2 separate regions of the Homo sapiens genome follow, and region 2 is linked to region 1. Evidence: promoter capture Hi-C in 16 types of primary human blood cells and fetal thymus (Javierre and others, 2016). All regions are on one chromosome and are shown on one strand. Each heading gives the region's core, a stretch centred on a gene start or on the middle of the fragment in contact. The rest is flanking DNA. Distances are from core to core; before and after follow the strand shown. Region 1 holds the start of FSCN3 (fascin actin-bundling protein 3). Region 2 has its middle 43 kb from the start of ZNF800.

What was found. Contacts are between HindIII fragments. The CHiCAGO score rates a contact against its expected background, and 5 or more counts as called.
Region 2: a contact is called between a fragment that was not itself captured here and the fragment with the promoter of FSCN3 in region 1, in 1 of 17 cell types (naive CD4 T cells). The highest score is 5.0, in naive CD4 T cells.

The regions. Positions count from the first base shown.
Region 1 is chr7:127,591,779-127,598,410 of GRCh38, reverse strand. It overlaps FSCN3 (fascin actin-bundling protein 3), which reads right to left and starts at 4,675. Exons shown (of 7, transcript NM_020369.3): 1 at 4,414-4,675; 2 at 2,408-3,104; 3 at 1,965-2,083. The coding sequence starts at 4,557. It overlaps LOC105375489 (a long non-coding RNA gene), which reads left to right and starts at 6,171. Exons shown (of 3, transcript XR_007060513.1): 1 at 6,171-6,282; 2 at 6,407-6,598. The HindIII fragment of the contact is 6,131 bases long and covers 1-5,362 here.
Region 2 is chr7:127,346,522-127,353,361 of GRCh38, reverse strand. It overlaps a transcript of ZNF800 not described here. Among named protein-coding and RNA genes, the nearest start is that of ZNF800, 43 kb to the left of the region's middle. RefSeq lists a silencer at 5,232-5,601. The HindIII fragment of the contact is 809 bases long and covers 3,285-4,093 here.

The DNA.
Region 1 (6,632 bases), core at 3,426-5,925:
ATGAGGAGTAAGGACTGACAATCTCAGCTTTCTTCCCATCAGTTTTATTCCTAGACCCTCTTCCCACATCCCACTCATCAGCCTTTTTCATGCTCCCAGAGTTGATGCTTTCAGAACCTTTTTGGAAGATGTGCTGTGGCCTCAGCTCTTCCCCTTCCCCCAGTCTGTGCTGTATCCCAGAGCACAGCATAAAAACTACGCCAGGATATCATAGGGAGAGAAATAAACCTCAGTCTTGACTCCAAAATCATTTTAAAGTAGATCATAGGCATAAAAGTGAAAGTTAAACTATGAAACATCTAGAAGAAAACATAAGAGAAGTTCTTTGCAACTTTGGGGTAGGCAATGATTTCTTGGGACAAGAAAAGCAGTAACCATTTAAAAAAATTGATAAACTGAACTTCACTGAAATTAAAAACTTGCTTCTCAAAAGATCCATTAAACAAATAAAAAGGTAAGCCCCAGGTTTGGAGAAAACTTTTGCAATACATATATTTGGCAAAGGACTTGGATTTAGAACACATGAAGACCACTTACAACGCATTAATAAGACAAACAACCCAGTAACAAATGGCAAAGCATCTGAATAGATATGTCACAGAGAAGATATACAAATGTCCAATGAGCACATGAAAACGGGCACGGTGGCTCATGCCTGTAATCCCAGCACTTTGGGAGGCTGACACGGGCAGATCATGGGGTCAGGAGTTCGAGACCAGCCTGGCCAATGTAGTGAAACCCCATCTCTACTAAAAATACAAAAAATTAGCTGGGCATGGTGGCGCATGCCTGTAGTCCCAGCTACTTGGGAGGTTGAGGTAGGAGAATCTCTTGAACCCAGGAAGCGGAGGTTGTGGTGAGCCGAGACTGAGCCACTGCCCTCCAGCCCAGGCAACAGAGCAAGACTTCATCTCAAAAAAAAAAAAAAAATTCTAAACCTTACTAATTATAAGGTAAATGTGAATTAAATCCATAAATTACACACCCACTAGAGTGGCTAAAATAAAAAAGACAATCCAAAAGCCAGCTTTACTATTGGTGAGGATATGGAATTCTTAGAACCCTCATACGTTATTGACAAGAATGTAAAATAGTATAATCACTTTAGAAAACTGACACTTTCTTCCAAAGTTAAGCACATATCTATTATACAACCTAGTAATTCCACTCCTACATATTTACCCAAGATAAATGAAAATGTATGTTCACAAAAAGACTTGTACATGAATGCTTATAGCAACTTTATTCATAATAGCCCAGACTAGAAACAAGCCAAGTGTTCATCAACAAGTGAATAGATAAACAAATCATGTTTATGAGCAGCATTATAGAATACCACTCGGCAATAAAAAGGAATGAACTACTGACACACGAACATTATGTGAACGAACCTTAAAAACATTGTGCCAAGCACAAGAAATGTATGTACCATACATACTGTATGTTTCCATTGATCAGAAACGCTAAAGTAGGTAGGCAAATCTAATTCACGGAGACAGAACACAGATCAGTGGTAGCTGGGAGAGGGAGGCAAGGGTGGAGGGAAACTGACTGCAAAGAAGCAGGAGGAAAGTTTGTGGTGTTGGAAATATTTTCTCACTTGTGATATGCTTACGGCATGGTTGCATGGATGGATACATTTGTCAAAACTTACTGAATTTTATACTTAATAGGTGCATTTTATTTATAAAACATACATAATATACTTATTTGTAAATAATATACATAATTTATACATATGTGTATTATATAATTTACAAACTTTCAAATTATACCTTAATAAAGTTGATTTTTGTTTTTTTTTTTTAAAGGAGCCCCCATTGGGTGAAAATGAATGTTTATCAACAAGTGCCTCCACAGCCCACATCATCCTCTCATCATTTGCCTTGAAAAAGGAGAAGGAAGTCTAGGGAGGGAGAGCTCAGAGCTTAAGGTTTCTCTTGCTCAGGAAGCCAAGGTCTCACCTGGGATAGGTAGTAGCCATTGGCTGAACGAAGCTGCACAGTGGGGCTCTCACTGTCACATTCAAACTGGAACAAGGACATTCGGTTTAAGCGCTCAGAAGCAGCACGCACCTCACCATCTGCAGAGGAAGCGCATGTCAGTAAAAGCCTCCCCTCAGTCTCGGCCCCTCCTCCATGTTTTATGACCGGGGCTTCTGTCCCTCCCTCCTCAAACTTCATCACTTTCTGTTGGACCATGGTAGGTCTGGAGAAGACCTAGGCAACTTTCCCCTAAATCCCATACCCATGCTTTTCTGTCCTTCTCGATGGCACAAAAGATCCCCTTGGGTCCCCAGGATCTTCCTTATTAGCAGACTCAAAAATCTGTGCTGATCCCAAACACATTTTCCTCTTTTTAACAGCCAGCCCTCTCTCCCTCCATCTGTGTTGGGTCCAGCACTTGCCGTAGATGACTGAGATGAACCGCCCAGTCTTTGACCTGAGGCTGACCCAGGTTGGGCAGTGCTGTAGGATGAACCACTCCTCACCCCTCATGGGGTTGCAGCCCATGCCCAAGAGCAGATGCGTGCCCTGTGGATATAACATGCCTCCTTCTCCATCACACAGTGCCACAAGCCCTCCAGGCCGCACTTGCATGTGAAAAGCTGTCTGTGATGAGGGTTGGGAGAACAGCCGGTCTACATGGGACAAGAAGTGGTGTGTAGAGGTCTCCAGGTGGTAGCATCCATCTCGGAAATGCAACAGGAAGCCACACTCCTCCAGGCAGGGAACTGCTGCGTCCACCCAGATGCGGCCCATAGTGGGGTCAGCCCGGGCATAGCAGCGGTGGATGGGGCTGTAGAGGATCACGTGGACATGGAGGGCTGGTCGGGGGGTCCACATGTGGTAAGCTGAGAGGACGTGGGAAGTGCAAAACACGTCCTTGCCATTGGACTCCAAATAACGACCAGAGATTAGGCACTGGAGGGTCCACTTGCTGTTCCGGTGGAAACGCAGTAGAAAGCACCCATGGTGGCTGGTCCTTGGGCGGCCATAACACACGGTGCCATCACACTCACACAGCAGGTAGAGGCCCTGCACGCTCTTTAGTCGCACCACGGCCTGTGTCTCATGCTCATTGCTCACCAAGATCTCCCAGGTCTGGAGGCATCAGGAGGGAGAAGAGGGAAATCAGTATCACGAAGTTACCAGACCAAGGAGCCCTGCAACTGTCATGGCTGGTATCACCCTGGCACCTTCATCAGCACCAGCCACCTCCTCTTCCACATCAGCCCTGGTATCTCCTTGCTGTCAGCTCTTCCACTTTCCCACTATCCCCTCATCAAGAGATCTCTGGGCCCTTCCACCCCTGCAGCCAGATGGCACTATCCAAAGAGAAGTTCTAGATGTCTACCTCCTTCAGCTAACAGAAGGTAAACCCTCCCTCCTTTCTTAATCCCACTCTTCAATACCTAATTTTTAAAGAAACGCTTTGGTGTAAGTCTTACTTTTTTCTTCCTCACTGTTGTCCGCAGAGAGCACACTTAGCCAATACCTCCATCCCCAAAGGTTGCCTTCCAGCATGGCAAGACAGAAGCAAAAGCTCTTATAGGCAGGCCCTGGCTCCAGGGATGAAGATGGGAGCATGAACAGTTCAGATGCAACTGCCTGGTTCAGCTGTGATCAACCTTGTTATAAGAGGAAGAACTTTGCCCCTGCCTCAGTCTGGCACCCATCCCAGAGGTGCCTACATTCCTCTCTAGAATGAAGACCGACACTGCTAGGGCTTCTGGAGTTCCCCATTCTCAAACCACAACCAGAACAGAAACATAGGCTTTGCAATAACTCCACTGGTCCAACTTCCCCTGGATGCCCACAATTCTGCTTTCCCACCTGGGCTCTCCACTTCTCCTCTTTCTGACACAACCACCCTGTGCTCTCCACTTCTCTTCTTTCTGACACAACCACCCTGTGCTGGGATGGGGAATAGGGACAGTTAGAGCAGGACAAGGCAGCAAGGGCAAGGCTGAGGCTTCACCTTGCGGAATAAATTGAGAGGTGGGAGATGGGGCAATAGGGTCTGTGAACAAAAGCCTAGAGTAGAAAAGTCTCAGGCCTGGCACTGGCAGAACCTAGGAAAGTGATTAGGTTGAGAGTACACCCTGCTTTCATATACAGGCAAGTGCGCACACACACACACACACACACACACACACACAGCTTGGCCACTCAGAAAACTGGTTCCAGTATACTTTCATATACAGGCAAGTACACACACACACACACACACACACACACACACACACAGCTTGGCCACTCAGAAAACCGGTTCCAGTATACTTTCATATACAGGCAAGTACATACACACACACACACACATACACTCACGCACACACACGCGCGCGCGCACACACACACACACAGCTTGGCCACTCAGAAAACTGGTGCCAGCATGGGTTTGCTTTGTCACCTGTCTCCTGCCCAAACTCTTCGCAGTTGCAGTGACTGTATTCTTGCATGCCTCAAAGGTGAGGTAGGTTCCTGCCCAGCTGATGAGCCCAACCCTTAGGTCCTCAGCCTTGGGATGTCTGTGTATCCACTCTGTCTCATCCATGGGGCTGACACCACAGGTGATGTCTCCGTCTGGCCCAGCCCTCCCCCCCGTGGTGAGGTTCCACAGGCCATAGGGCCTGGAATAGGGCCTGTAGTACCCACCAGATGTTCCCAGAGAGAACTTCCCAGGCAGAGGCTGGCCTGGGGCCCAGCACCTCTGTGACCCGGGAGCATTGTGACTGTGAGGGCAGCCTCTTATCACACCACAGTGGGGAAAGGGCCCTGGCGCAGCAGCATTAATCCATGGCCTAGAGGAGGCGGGTGCAGAGCCTCCGGTGTTTGCCTTCCTATTCCCCTTTGGGCACCAAAGTAGGCTGAGCTGAGACCAGGATCCGGAACTTCAACCTGTGAATTTAGGCAAGTTTTTTCCTTTCTTTACCTCCGTTTCTCATTCTGGTAACAGGATAGAAAGCAACCTCCTTTCTCCCAAGGAAGTGAGTTCTGCCTGGCTCCCTTGCAACTCAAGTATTTTGTTAAGTTCAAGATAACCAAGAAAAATCTATCAGCTTTTATGGCCCTTAGGAGGATGAGGTCAAAATGTTCCAGATGCTATTTTGCAGGGAGTATGAGGAAACCCTAGTTAATCAGTTGACATCAAATTACTCATATTCATCAGGAAGGCTGGCTCAGGACCTGGGTAAGGAGAAGGGCCTAGGTGGAGAGAGCACCAAGCACCCCTCCTCAACCCCAGCTGCTCTGCCAGTGGGTAGGACATCTGGCTGGGCAGATAGAGCTCCTGCAAGGGTATCTTTCCCCTCCAAAGAATCTCTGAGTTATAGTCTCTTGGACTCACTTCCTGCAAAGCTTGAGGAGAAAACCCAGCTCAGAACCTGGAAAAGTGACATGAAAGAAAAACAAAGGCAAAAACAAGTGATGATGAGTTCTGCCTAAGCCTGGCTAGGATCCAAGGGAAAATGGGCAGTCGATCACACTTGGGGAATAAGCCACACCCCTGGTTCCTTTTTCTGAGTCAGGGTCTTGCTCTGCTAGCCAGGTTGGAGTGCATCTCAGTTGACTGCAGCCTTGATCTCCCAAGCTCAAGCGATCCTCCCGCCTCAGCCTCCTGAGGTGCTGGGACCACAGGTGTCCATCTCCATGCCCAGGTAATTTTTTATTTTTGTTTTTTGTAGAGATGGGGTCTTGCCATGTTGCCCAGGCTGGTCTTTAACTTCTGGGCTCAAGCAATCCTCCTACCTCAGCCTCCCAAAGTGCTAGGATTACAGGCATGAGCCACAGTGCCCAGCCACCCGTGGTTCCTTATACCTGCTTTCCTATTCCCCATAGGAGGGGTCTTCCCAAGTAGCAAGAGTCTCAGTGGTGTGCAGCAAGGAACTACAAGCCCCAGACCCCACCGATGTTTTATAAAATAAGGGTAATAGACTATTAGTGGCAGAATTCCCTGGGTAATTTTATTTATTTATTTAATTTATTTATTTATTTTGAGACGGAGTCTCACCCTGTCACCCAGGCTGGAGTGCAGTGGCACGATCTCAGCTCACTGCAAGCTCCGCCTCCCAGGTTCACACCATTCTCCTGCCTCAGCCTCCTGAGTAGCTGGGGCTACAGGTGCCTGCCACCACGCCTGGATAATTTTTTGTATTTTTTTTTTTCTAGTAGAGATGGGGTTTCACCGTGGTCTCGATCTTCTGACCTCGTGATCCGCCTGCCTCAGCCTCCCAGAGTGCTGGGATTACAAGCGTGAGCCACTGCGCCCGGCCTCCTCTGGGTAATTTTAAAGATGCATATTGTTGGGCATCAGACTAGTCCTGATGAATCACATTTTCTGAAATGTACCTCAGGATTCGTATTATTAACGCACATTCTCTCCCCCTCTAATTTTAATGTGTAAGGCAAACATTAAGAACGGCTCTAAGTAGCTACGAGAATGATGGGAAACAATTACGTGGTTCATGGAACTATGAAGGGAGATCCTGTAATCTTCAGCAAAGGCTCCTTGGAGCTGGGAAGGAATGAGATTTGCACCACTGTAAACCCTACAGTATTTCCAGCCCAAGAATAAGGAGGGAGAAGCTGAGCTGAGGGTATGTGTGGGTGGGGTTGCCCTGCAGCCTTAGC
Region 2 (6,840 bases), core at 2,440-4,939, 240 kb after region 1:
GAATTCTTGATGTAAGATAATGAACAAAAAGTCTTGTCAAGAACTGTGATTAAGTCATGTTAGGATCCTGCCATATTTATAAGTTTCTCTCCTATGGAGATGATGTCAGAAAACAAAAACTGGCCAACAAAACATCCCAAAAGGAAACAACACCCCTAAGTAATGATGTATTGCATATATTTGTGGACATCTGAAATATTTTTATATTTATTCTTTGGTAAAAGTTTATATGTCCAAGTTCTACTTGGACTTTTTCTTTTTGCTTAGGTGACTGATTCTTTTAATAAGCAAAATAAGTACTTATCGGTGCCATTGGGGGGAAAAAACCACTTTGGCCTTATCTGCTGTAAAAACTAAGCTCACAAGTTAGTGCTCTAGAGCATGGAAAAACACTATATTTTGTTCCTTTTCTCATCATTTCCATTTCTAATTAAAATGGTTATTGTGTGTGTGTGTGTGTGTGTAATCGTGGGATTTTGCTGTTTAAAGAAGGTGGACAGCAGGACAGAGGGCAGGCTGGCCTCCCTGCCAGGCCTCACAGGAACTTTGATGTGGCCACTGCTTTCTAAGGCTGACCCTGATTATTGGTTCATCCAGAGAGGTAACTAGGTATTAGAAGACTGTATCCCTTTAACCGGCTTCATAGTAGTGTATAAATTCCACAATTCAGTTCTTTAATTTGAGATGGGAAGTGTCAGGCACAATCATTTCTCATGTTTATGGTTCAGTGCATTTTCTCCCAATAGGCAAATCTACATGAAAAATAAATTATAATCAGAAGGTTGCTTGGTGAGCATTGAATCAGCTCTCAGCAACCAGTGTCAGTAAGCTCTGGTAGTGCAACACACTCATCTTCCCCATAGGAATGCAACTGCCACTCAGACCAGATATTGTTCAATATGCAGAGCATCCTTTCTACTAGACCAGGCTGCAGATGCATGGCCAGCTTTTGCTTTCTTCATTTCTTTTCTTACAGAGGTATTATAGACTTTCTCTTTTGATACTTTTTTTCTATTAGAATTTAATGCAGTTGAGTTGATTAATGTATGTAAAACACTTAGCCCAATTCCTGGTATACAGTAAGTACATGATAACTATTATTATGAATAAGCATAACTGGTTTTGAGTCCAAGTCATCTTGTTACTTGTAATATCAAAGACAGTCTTTTGGGCCATGTTTATAGATGAGTGTGATCCATCTTTTACATTTTGAGTTATTTTCATCCTTTAATTCTTTTCATTTAATTCTTCAATTTTATTTATCCTTAATGTTGAATCCATGAGCTAATTAGGACAATGCCTTTGACTGTATGTGATCTTGCTATTGTTTTAACTTTAAGATTTTTATTCTTTTAAATTTCAGTTTCTTGCTCTGAAATACCCCATTCTCCACATTTCCCCCACCTGTCATGTGAATCTGTTGGAAGAGATGATCTTGAAGTTGCTGCTCAGTTCCAGAATACATTTGATTTTACATCTTATTTGAGTATATGATGTCAGTTGTAGCCATTTCCATCTAACTGTGCTTGCCTTCATTTTAAGCTCTGCTTAAATTCTTTCTCATAGAGTGTGAAGTTATTTTGAAAATGGTAGCAACATCTGAATCCTTAGAAGGATGGCCATGGCACTGGGAGGTTGTGATTGAAAAGTCCATGGGTAAATGTAGGATTTCAGCAGTCAGCAGTGACACTACAGACCTGACAGATACACAACTGACAAATCAAAACATTTGTGTGAAAATGAGTACAGAAAGGAATGATTCAGATGAGTCAGTTGATCACCCCAGCAAAAATAATCATTGTCAGTCTTCTCTCCATCCATCTGGGAAGTGAGTTATTCTTTTAAGAGTTGCAAAGAAGATTCAGGAAAACAGGAAAAATTACCACAGCTCTTTCTGGTGCTTGTAAAAATACATAATATGGTGCATTTTTAAAGGTGGTGGTCTCAGAACCACATTTTGAGAACTGTCAAAGATAGGAACCATTGTCAGAGTTCAGAAGAGAGATCATTTCAGGCTGCAGTAGTCAGGGAAAGCTTAATGAAAGAGACTGGCTTTGGTCTAGGTCTTGAGAGATGGACAGGATTTGAATAGATGAGAGCAGGGAGAAAACATTTTTCGATGGGTGAAATGCCAAGAACAAAAGTACAGAGGTGGGAAACAATAGTGTAAGGGGAGTGCAGAATCAAATAGTTTGACTCAAAGGTTCTTAAATGTGGTCCATGAAAGAAAATTAAGGCCCTACTTCTGTCAAATGACATCACTCACTTCAGACTTGGAAGAAATGGGCAGCTCTGCATATTTCTCTTCAGCATGCAAATGAATGAAACTGTTGATGCCTCTCAGTGCATCCAGCTTCACATTTTCATGTGCTTGCTGATGTCATCAAAGGAGAACTCCATTTAAGAACACCTTTTGGAAACTGGAAAGACTGTCAACATCTTCAAAATATTCGTTCTCAATAAATATTCAAATGGAAGAAGAAAAATTGCACTCTGGGGGCAGCTGGTGCACCTGTGATGTCAGCAACACAGCATGGTTTTCCTGCTTGATGAGGAAAGGATTGCTGCACGTCATTGTGCCTCGGTGCTTTCCATATCAGCAGCTGTTACCACCTTTCCAAAAGGTGTTGCCAAGAAACAGGAGCAGGGTAAGATGTTTTTCTCTAACCAGACAGAAATCTGCTGACTTTCCAGAAGTCTAATTGAACTTGAAGGCAGAGGAAATAATGTGACTTGAATCTAACTTGAAAGTCTTGGAGGAATTTGGTGTTACAGTGTGCAGGCCACCTTAACCTGGCAAATTCCATTCTATGCAATTCTGCTTTCGTTCTATTAAATACGTACCTTTGTGAGTCAAGGATTTCAGCACTTGTTGCCATAGGGAAAAAGTTGTAATGGGTTATCAAAGATGAAGTATATGTTGCTATGTCAAAAGCCAAAGCACAGTTTCAACTCATTTAAACTAGATCTCATTGAGATGTACTACTGAACAGTCAGAATTTTCTAAATTTTTTTTCCAGGAAACAGTCATTTTTCTTTCAAAAGAGAACGGAGGCATAATCCTTTACAAATATTGCTTATGTTCAGTAAATCATCTTCCAGTGCAGTGAAACGAAGTAAATGGTGTATGCACTTCTGCGCATGTTTCTGGAGGAGGAAGTCCATATCTTTAGTCAGAATCTCTATCGATTTAGCTATTGTGGAGGCAGTAGGTTGCTCTGGATAAATCTGAGCAAAGGAATGAGAGGAAATCAGCTCATTTGAAGAATATGGGATGCGAAGCTTTGACACGACAATGGCGAGTAATTTAGGGATTCAGGTTATCCCCCGCATCTGAGTAATCTGAAGGTAATTTTCTAGCTAGAGCTTCTCAAAGGTAGGAACCTTGTGTTATCTTTTTTGTTCATACTGTCTGAGCACAGTGCAGGAGACATAATAGGGACTCCAAAAATGTTGAGTTAAATTGAAATCACTGTATGAATAGTGAAAGCTGGACTGTAGCACCAATAATAAATGCTCTTCTGTCTTATTTGTATTTAACATTGTTTGGTTACATCATTTGGGGAATATTAAGGTTTTTGAGAGAAAATGTTTTATTAAAAGCTCCTATAACCTTCATTTTATTCAGGAGCAGGTGGTTAACACAAACTTTTGGCCTTAAGAGGATTTATTCTCTTTGGACATTTTATTTATTTCTGATAATTTTTACCAAAAGTATGCTTCCAGACACAATAATTGTATCCAGTACCTTCAGGGTGAAGGAAACTTACAGGATGGTGTGATTACTTATGTCATCTGTTTAAGCAACAAAGCAACATTCCAATAAACATCTAATCTTGGATTTGCTCATCATTAGATAAAATCAGCCTGACAACTCTGAGCTCACTTCAGCTTAAAATATATCTGAAACTTACAGAGGATCTTCTATCAATCTAATAACAAAGTCCTGGAACCCCTCTCCTGTGTTATATTATTATAATTTTATTATCACTTTTATGCATGTTCCTGGAACAAGGCTTAGCAAAACAGACTCCCTAGGTATTAACTTAAAATTTTAAATTAATTTATGATTGGGAGACCAGGATGTTAAGCTTAGATTCTAGTTCATTGCCATATTTTAGTTTTGATCCCATTCAATTATTTCAAACTAAAGAGAGATTCATTGAATTACTCTAAAACATTGGTATGATCTAAAACATTTGTCCCACATTTTTCTGTTTTTAGCAAACTGTGTGTTCCCAAGTCTGGAAATTACAAATCAAATTACATTTCTCAAAAGCCCAGATTTTTTTTTTTCTAAAGTGGAAATTATTACTAGAGTTAAATAAGATATAATGTCACAAAAGACAGTAGCTTTGATTAACTGCAAAGTGTTTAAGCAATAAACTCTTCTGTAATACTGTAATTTACGCAGAACTTTTGAGGAAGATAAACTACTTTTGTGGACTCTTCATTTTTTAAAATCTTTTGATGTCCACCACTTTGCTACACAATAGAAAAGAAAGATTTTCATAAATTTGAATTGAGATAAATATAGAATGGGTACATAAGAATGGAGTAAAATTCCTTGTATTATATTTTTTACTGTAAAACAAACTTGTATGAAATTTGGGAAACATAAGTTAAAAAAGCGTTACCTGCAGCTTTATCACCTGGAGATAACTGCTTAACATTTTGATGTGTTTCTGTCCATTATTACATATGTGATGTGTCGTGTGTACACACATGTACACGTAAGTATACACTCACATGGTACAAATGGGGATGAAACTGATTTTTTTCATTGCATATAGTATCAATTCTTTTCCATATCATTACGTATTATTTCACAGCATTATTTCAATAGCAGTTTAGTATTCGCTGTAAGAAAAAGACTATAACCAATACCTTATTGTTGGGTGTAGGACATTCCCATTTTTTTTTTTTTTTTGCCATTTTTTTCTGGCATTTTTTTTTTCTATTATAGATACTGCACTGAACACCCTGTATGAAAAGTTTGTAGGTATTCATAATTATTCCTTAAGGGAAAATTCTCAAGCTAGACTTTCTGGGTCAAAGAGTATTCAGACATTTAAGGGTTTTGATACATTTTCCTAAATTGCCACCAAGTTGTTGCATGAGACCTGAATTGGATCTGTTTTCCTATGACCACCGCAGTTTTCTCTCTTGGCACCCTGTTGGGCGAAAGTGGCACCGCACTGCCCGTGGGTCTGCAGCTCTTGCGGGGCTGAGAGGCGTCGGCGCTCTTTCCTTGGTTTCTAACCCGCATATCTTTGTCTTTCCTCCCTGGGGACCGCTGCCACCCGTGCGGGCCGAAGCCTCGCGAAGCCGTCGTCCCGCAGCGCCGCCGCCCTGCGCCCGGCCGCCCCCGGGAGCCGCTGCCTGCCCGCGGGCGCCGTCACCACGCGTCAGGCCGCTGCCAGCTGCCGCGCCAAGCTCCGCGGCGGCGCCGCCCGAGAGCTCCAGCACGCTGCCCGGGGCCTGGGGAAGCCCGCGGCTCCGTGAGCGCCGCCGCCTGGCCGCCGGCGGGACCTCGCCCTCGCTCCGCACCGCCGTACCTCAGGCGCCTCGCCGCGGCCGTCTCCACGGGCCGACCAGCCGTCCGCAGACCCCTGAGTCCTCTGCCTCGCCTCAAACCCCTTTCACCCCTTGCCCTCGCCGTCCCTGGTTTGAGCCAGAACTCTCCCGCGAAGCCCTCTAGAGGACCACGTGCCTTAGGGACAGGCTGGGGGCGGCCTCCGTGCGAGTCGTGGTTGTTCGCAGAGCAGCACGTCCTCTGCCTGCCAAAATCCCGGCTTCTTTGAGAATCTTGTCACTGGACAATACCATCCTTTTCCTTTCAGCCTGTAATTTATAGATTTCCTATTCCTAGTGAGTTTTGTCATGATTAGTTCTTCAAAGACTAGCTCCTACTTGAACCTTCACCTCAAATCCTGGCATCGACAAACTAGTTTCCCCCCGCCCACCTCCCCACCCCCCCGCCACAACCCCAAATATTGCCATCTGCCAGAAGATTGTTTTAATAACTGTCCAAATCCTCAGTGACTGTGGGGTGCTTGACACAACTTGGAGTTGTGTTATGCACAACTGTGGTTGAACTTGAACTCCAACATCCAGTCCCCTCCTTCCTGTAACTTCATCTCCAGTAATTATTTCTCCCCTTCAGAATCAGTCCTTGCTACCACAGTTCTAGACCATGTCATCATTAGAATCCGCATCCTCTCTACAGTCTTGTCTGTGGTGACCATGGCCTCTCAGATCTCCTGCTCCACGGAGCGGAAGTGACTGACAGGTCCCCCTGCCTTCCCAAGGCATACACTGCTGGGTTTGCACTGAAGCCATGCTTCTCTGGCACTACTCCCAGTCAGTGAGCGGGCACAGCACGGGGTGTTGGTGGTGGCACGTTCATGGAAGATGTAGGACTCCTCTGATGAGCAAGTTTGGCTTGGAAACACCTGAGCCGGCTGGTTGAAACTTTCTGAGAACTATGCTGCATGCAGCCTGAGGCTCTTGGGCCCAGTTCCCCTCTCCTTTCACAGGTGTCAGACCTGTATTATGATATGAAGTCTCCCTTCCCCGCTCCTGCTTCCTTCTGTTTATCCTTCACAGGAGTTCCCTTAATAAAACTCTTGCACATTGAACCCTGTCTTGGTGTCTGCTTCTAAGAGGACCTGAACTAGCACATCATCAGACATTCCATGCTCTGATCACCATCTTCCTATCCTAGATTCCTTGCTCACTGACAGCTAATTCGTTGCTTCATTTTTTCCCCACTGTTTATCAGCCCCTGTCTTGCGTTCTCGTCCTTGCTTAGTCTAGATTCTGTGATCCATTATCATG